Regions from separate parts of the Homo sapiens genome. Here region 2 is linked to region 1. The links are contacts of gene promoters, found by promoter capture Hi-C in blood cells and fetal thymus (Javierre and others, 2016). All regions are on one chromosome and are shown on one strand. The core of a region is centred on a gene start or on the middle of the fragment in contact, and the rest is flanking DNA. Distances in the headings are between cores, read along the strand shown.

Region 1 (3,746 bases), core at 1,130-3,629:
CAACAGTATGAGGGAGGCTGAAGCGGGCGGATCACTTGAGGTCAGGAATTGGAGACCAACCTGGTCAACATGGCAAAACCCCGTCTTTACTAAAAATAAAAAAATTAGCCGGGCATGGTAGCGTGCACCTGTAGTCTCAGCTACTTCGGAGGCTGAGGCAGGAGAATCGCTCAAACCCGGGAGGCGGAGGTTGCAGTGAGCTGAGATCTCACCACTGCACTCCAGCCTGGGTGACAGAGTGAGACGCTGTCTCTTAAAAAAGAAGAAGAAGAAGGAAAACAGCTTTCAGCATAATAAAAATCTAATAAGTAAACAGCAATGGAAAGTTCAGGTATATTTCTTAATGGATATGGACTGCATTTATCCCTTGACAAGAGTGGCTGGCTGTGGGCAGTGGACCAGGGACTCGCGGGACACCATGGACTACATGGACTACACCCACCTAGCTTCTCCCCTGTGATGAGTCCTTCCGCTTCAGGCCTTTTTTTTTTTTTTTTTTTTACAGCCCTTCTCCATTCCCACCACCACCACTACCGTCTCAGATATGAGATCAGGCTCTGTGAATTGGGTTAGGGGTAATCCAGATTTTCCTGCTTTTCTGTAGCAAGAGCGAAAAAAGGTGTTTCTCAAGTTCTTCAGTTTAGAAAGGGTCAGGGATCTCTGCACTTATCAGGACATGTAGAGAAACCATTCATAAAATTAAGAACATAGATTTGTATGCTTAGAAGGAACTAGAAAAGACATTCTTTATTCTATATAGAAATCCATCCTATTTAATCACTTAGACCCTGCTTGAAAAATGAGTTATAGAGTACCCCCTCCCTCTCTGGGAAACAATTCCATAGTAAGAGAGTTCTGCCTGTTAGAACATACTAATCTAAAATTAATTTGGAGGCCAGGTGCAGTGGCCCATGCCTGTAATTCCAGCACTTTGGGAGGCCAAGGAGGGAGGACCACTTGAACCCAGGAGTTTGAGACTAGCCTGGGCAACATAGTAAGACCTGTCTCTCCCAAAAAAATTTTTTTAAATATTCGGGCATGGTGGTGAATACCTGGGCAGTCCCAGCTACTCAGGAGGCTGAGGTGGGAGGATTGCTTGAGCTCAGGAGCTTGAGGCTGCAATGAGCTGTGATCGCACCACTGCACCCTAGCCTGGGCTACAGAGCGAGATCCTGTCTCAAAAAAATAAAAACATAAAACAAAATTAATTTGAAAATAGCCCACCACCATGCTACGCTTTCCACATGGTTCCATCCAGAAGAGAAGTCTCCTCAATCACATGGCAACCCTGCTAATTCCCATCAATTATTCTCACAGTGAAAGTTATCAATTCCAGAAGAGAAAAATCAGCAACCTCCTCTGTAAAAGCTTTACAGAGACTTTTAGAGCCGAGTAAACAAGAGGGAGCAAAAGTTGAAACACGATGAAAATGCAACTAAAGCAATGCAGGACCTAGGCTGACTCTGGGGGTGACATCGAGGTTCCACATCCCAAAGGCAAGTCTAAATGTTGGGGTCTTCATGGACAGCTCCCAGACCTCTGATGACCCTCATGGTGCCGTTGTCAAAGGTAACATCCCAAATTATTGTAGATCTGTCTTCAGCAGGGATTTTTTTTTTTTTTTTTGAGACAGAGTCTCACTCTGTTGCCCAGGCTGGAGTGCAGTGGTGCGATCTCAGCTCACTGCAACTTCCACCTCCTGGGTTTAAGCGATTCTCCTGACTCAGCCTCCTGAGTAGCTTGGATTACAGGCACCCACCACCACACCCAGCTAGGGAATTTTTTTTTTAATGACATTGGGTAGCATCCCCCTTTGAGTCTTATAAATGATCTCCCTCAAACTTCTGCAGCAAGTGACTTCTTGGGCAAGTCATTTTCCCTGTTGGGCACATATGTAAGAGAGGGATTTGGCTTATAGATTGACATGTGTTCATTATCGTTTATTTCCACAAACCTTCACTGAGAGCATGCTTCGTGCCTTGGGGGCTCAAAAATGAAAGACACGTTCCCTACTCTCAGGAATTTCACAGGCTGGTGCGGGGAGACACACAGATAAGTAGACCATTCAAAAGTAGGTTTATGCTAGAGTGAGAGGGGCTGTGAAGAAGGGCTGAGCCCTAATGAGAGATCGGGGAAAGCTAGGGAAGATGTCCCAGTGTGAATCTTCCCTCTCCATTGCTCCAAACACCTCCTCAAAACCTGTGACTTGTAACCCTCTGCATGCCCTCCCAGTGCCTGGATCAAATGCTCAGCTTATGTGCCACACACTAGACTGATGTTATGCATGGATAAGCTCTTAGATATCCGGCTGGTTCTGTGCCCATCCCTCTGCCCCCACTGCAGAGAGGCCAATAAAACTCTTGTTCAGACTCACACTGCACACAGTATTCTGAACTCCTGGATCTACCACCTCCTGCTTCCCAAGGACCATGAAACTCCTGCTGCTGGCTCTTCCTATGCTTGTGCTCCTACCCCAAGTGATCCCAGGTAATCAGAGGTCAGGGAAGATACAAAAATAGAGGTATAGTGGGTTCTGGCTCATGAAAATTCCAATGTGTCACGGTACTCCCCAACATGGGCAGCTCCACAGTTCCCACACTGGGACTATGCTCCTGGCTGGGGTAAAACCTGGGAGTAGAGCAAGTTATCCTCAATAGACAGGGGCAGTCCCACCATCCAGAGTTGTCCTTGGTTCTATATTCCAAGTTGCCGCCTAAGAAACTAGGGGAAAGCTCGGCTCACATCTGTTCTCTTTCCAGATTGTGCCAGCTTTTGAAAATGATTCCTGCAGCCCACTTTGCTATGTTTTCTTGGCCCTAAAAGTCCTGCTATAGCTATAATGAGGTTCTTTTTGTTTTCTAATATTCTAGAATTTGGTGAACAAGTCAGAAAACACTGGTAGAGCTGTTACACGGAAGACAGAACTGGCTTTTCTTCTTCCTTCTACAGTGAAAATCTAAGCTTTTCATAATCACTGCTTTCTTAAGTATATCTAAAGGCATGACCAGAACTTTGAAATCACTGGTGAAGAGAGCCTGTTTCTCCTTTATGTTTTTCAAGGTGCATTTCAATGTATGATCGAACTTACATAAAAATGAATCTAAATATTTCTGTTTTATAACGAAGTAAGCACACTCCCTGCATGGCTATGCAGCACTCTTGTGTTTTTTTTTTTTTTTTTTTTTGAAGATGGAATCTCAATCTGTCACCCAGGCTGGAGTGCAGTGGCGCAATCTCAGCTCACTGCAACCTCTGCCTCCTGGGTTCAAGCAATTCTCCTGCCTCAGCCTCCCAAGCAGCTGGGATTACAGGCATGCACCATCATGTCCGACTAATTTTTGTATTTTTAGTAGAGATGGGGTTTCACCATGTTGGCAAGGCTGGTCTCAAACTCTTGACCTCGGGTGATCCATCCGCCTCGGTCTCCCAAAGTGCTGGGATTACAGGCATGAGCCACCGCACCCGGCCCTATGCAGCACTCTTCTTTCACTTATTATTTTGTGGCCATCTTTCCATGTCACCATCTAAAGATCTGCCTTATTGTTTGTAAAGTTGTATAGTTCTGCTGTAGGATAAGCCATATAAAGTCATATATAGCCATTTGAGACATTTCTTAATTTTCGAACAAGACATCAATGAATATGCTTGTACAAACATTAATATATTTACATATATGGATATGGGCTTAAATAGGATAGATTCCTAGAGGGCAAATAACCAAGTTAAATGTAAGTCTGGTGGGGGTG
Region 2 (3,737 bases), core at 492-2,991, 140 kb after region 1:
CTGCACTCCAGCCTGGGTGACAGAACAAAACGCCATCTCAAAAAAAAAGATAAGATCCACATCTAATTTTATTGACACAGAAAATGTCAAGAACCCCAAATTTGGTTGGTTTGAAGAACATGTGAAGGGTTTGACTAGATGATGAATGTCAATATTAAATCAGCTGAAGTTTCATATACAAAATGAAGAGGAACAGCATTCAAACTTAGTTAAGACACAATTTCCTTGAGTGGCCAGGCATGGTAGTCATGCCTGTAATCCCAGCACTTTGGGAGGCCAAGGTGAGCAGATCGCTTGAGCCCAGGAATTCAAGACCAGCCTGGGCAACATGGTGAAACCCCATCTCTATAAAAAATGGAAAAATTAGCTGGGCATGGTGGTATATGCCTATAGTCCCAGCTACTCGGGAGGCTGAAGTGGGAGGGTCGCTTGAGCCCAGGAGGTCAAGGCTGCAGTGAGCTGTGATCATGCCATTGTGTTCCAGCCTGGGTGACAGAGTGAAAATGTGCCTTGAAATAAAATTTTCCTTTGAATACGGCTTAAGAAATATGGCCACTTAAAACTCTACCTTGAAAATAAATATAGATTTTATCTTATCTAGAGGTAGAGTGGGAAGTTTTCATTTGGTACATTAAATCTATAAGGCCATAAACAGGTAATATAAAAAGCTTTCATAATTCAATTTATATATAACATGAGAAGGAACTTCCAGGTGTTACTATGAATCTTCTATGTATAGTTACAGTCAATATACTTTATATAAGAGATAATTTTAATACCAATATAATCTAGATAACATTTTACTTTGTTATGTTATCATTGTTCTCTTGGGGAATAAATTTTTTCCTCTGAGGCTCTGGATTTGACATTGAATTTTGTGTGTACTAATTGACATGTGCCAGGGCAATGATGGACTGGAATCCACCCCCAAATCAAAGCATCATGGTAAATCTTGCTTATCCTTATAAAGTCAAATGATAGACATTTCCCATCACCTATTTCTATTCAACAAGAGCACCAGATTCAGTTAGCTAATCTGCTTCCAAAGAGTAGAACTGCATTGAGCTCAAATAATTTCAAAATACTGACTTTTTTTTATTTATTTATTTATTTTTTAGATGTGGTCTTGCTATGTTGCCCGGGCTGGTCTCTAACTCCTGGGCTCACACGATCCACCCACCTCGGCCTCCCAGCATGCTGGGATTACAGGCGTGAACCACCATACCCAGCCTATTTCTGCGTATGTTAAACATGCTTTACAATTTTAAAAATGAACTGTTTTGAAGGTAAAATTACAAATCTTGAAATTAAAAAAGCAAATATGTAAAGGAGCAAAAACTATAAATCAAACATTTGAGAAGAGAAAATTGGAGGCTAACTTGTATTAAATTCACAAAAACTTCTATACTTTCTGTAAATACTTTTTTAAAAAACTATAGATCAGAGGCTAGGCGCAGTGGTTCACGCCTGTAATCCTAGCACTTTGGGAGGCCGAGGCGAGTGGATCACTGAGGTCAGGCGTTCGAGACCAGCCTGACCAACATGGAGAAACCCCATCTCTACTGAAAATACAAAATTAACTGGGCGTGGTGACGCATGCCTGTAATCCCAGCTACTCGGGAGGCTGAGGCAGGAGAATCGCTTGAACCAGGGAGGCAGAGGTTGTGGTGAGCCGAGATTGCGCCATTGCACTCCAGCCTGAGCAAAAAGAGCAAAACTCAGTCTCACAACAAACAAAAAAACTATAGATCAGAATAACCACCTTTAGAACACTTTCGGTTATCAGTCAATATTTTTAGATAGAAGCTGGTAGTAAGCCTAAAGTGGGCTTAATTCTGCAGTAAACAACTGCCTCAACACATAGAAATCTTTTTTAAAATAGGCACTCTTGGCCGGGCGCGGTGGCTCATGCCTGTAATCCCAGCACTTTGGGAGGCCGAGGCGGGCGGATCACGAGGTCAGGAGATCGAGACCATCCTGGCTAACACGGTGAAACCCTGACTCTACTAAAAATACCAAAAATTAGCCGAGCGTGGTGGCGGGTGCGTGTAGTCCTAGCTACTCGGGAGGCTGAGGCAGGAGAATGGCGTGAACCCGGAAGCTGGAGGTTGCAGTGAGCCGAAATCGTGCCACTGCACTCCAGCCTGGGTGACATAGCAAGACTCCATCTCAAAAAAAAAAATAAAAAATAAATAAAATAAAATAAAATAGGCACTCTTGCGGGAGGTGGCAGCTCATGCCTATAATTGCAGAACTTTGGGAGGCCGAAGTGGGCAGATTGCTTGAGCCCAGGAGTTTGAGACCAGCCTGGGCAACATGCCGAAACCCCATCTCTACTAAAAACACAAAAAGTTAGCCGGGCGTGGTGGCACACACCTGTGGTCCCAGCTACTGGGGAGGCTGAGGTGGGAGAATCACCCAAGCCCAGAAGGTAGAGGCTGCAGTGAGCTGTGATCATGCCACTGCACTCCAGCCTGGGTGACAGAGTGAGACCCTGTCTCAAAATAATAATAATAATAATAATAATAATAGGCCCTCCTTGAAGTTTTTTGTTTGCACAGTCACACAGTGATGCTTAGATGTTCCAGTATCTAATATAGCCACAGTAGGCTGCAAGCAGTGGCTCATACCTGTAATCCCAACACTTTAGGAGGCTGAGGCAGGAGGATCACTTGAACCTAGGAGTTTGAGACCAGCCTGGCCAACATGGCAAAACCCCATGTCTAAGAAAATATATATTTTTAACTTTTTTAACAATATCAAAAATAAGAATCACATAAATAAACAGATTCTTCAAATTCTGAAAAGAGCCACAAAGCTTTATAAATTGTACAGGGGCATGAACTCGTAAGGTATTATAATTGCCTGGCACATAGTAGGCTCTCAATACATTTGCAAACTCCACACACACCTTACTTTCTTTTGCTTTATTTTTCTCTATTTATCTGCATTAACATGCTATGTAACACATAACTATACATTAACGTTTTACAAATTACAAATTTTTCTTGTTTTTTTTTTTTTTTTTTTTGAGACAGAGTCTCACTCTGTCGCCCAGGCTGGAGTGCAGTGGGCTCACTGCAACCTCCGCCTCCCAGGTTCAAGCCAGTCTCCTGCCTCAGCCTCCCAAGTAGCTGGGATTGTAGGCGCCCGCCACCACGCCCGGCTAATTTTTTATATTTTTAGTACAGACGGGGTTTCACCGTGTTAGCCAGGATGGTCTCGATCTCCTGACCTCGCAATCTGCCCACCTCGGCCTCCCAAAGTGCTGGGATTACAGGCGTGAGCCACCGCGCCTGGCCTTTTTTTTTTTTTTTTTTTTTTTTTTTTTCAGACGGAGTTTCGCTCTTGTTGCCCAGGCTGGAGTGCAATGGCTCAGTCTTGGCTCACTGCAACCTCCGCCTCCCGGGTTCAGGCGATTCTCCTGCCTCAGCCTCCCGAGTAGCTGGGATTACAGGTGCGTGCCACCACGCCCGGCTAATTGTTTGTATTTTTAGTGCAGACGGGGTTTCACCATATTGGTCAGGCTGGTCTCGAACTCGTGACGTCAGGTGATCCACCCGCCTCGGCCTCCTAGAGTGCTGGGATTACAGGCGTGAGCCACTGCGCCCAGCCCATTTTACAGACTTTTATTTTGTTCAGTTTCTTTATTGTCTTCCCAACGTCCCCCCACACACACTGCACTAAAATGCAAACTTCACGAAGGCAAGGAGGAACTTTTGCCTGTATTGTTCACC

The links. The method cuts DNA at HindIII sites, captures the fragments that hold promoters and counts their contacts. A CHiCAGO score of 5 or more calls a contact.
Region 2: a fragment that was not itself captured here is called in contact with the fragment with the promoter of DEFB118 in region 1 in 2 of 17 cell types (M1 macrophages and endothelial precursors); the score reaches 6.1 in M1 macrophages.

What each region holds. Positions count from the first base shown.
Region 1 is chr20:31,366,222-31,369,967 of GRCh38, forward strand. DEFB118 (defensin beta 118) reads left to right here and starts at 2,380. Exons shown (of 2, transcript NM_054112.3): 1 at 2,380-2,487. The coding sequence starts at 2,430. The HindIII fragment of the contact is 1,593 bases long and covers 1,367-2,959 here.
Region 2 is chr20:31,510,320-31,514,056 of GRCh38, forward strand. It overlaps the pseudogene CD24P3. Among named protein-coding and RNA genes, the nearest start is that of HM13, 2.3 kb to the right of the region's middle. The HindIII fragment of the contact is 2,150 bases long and covers 667-2,816 here.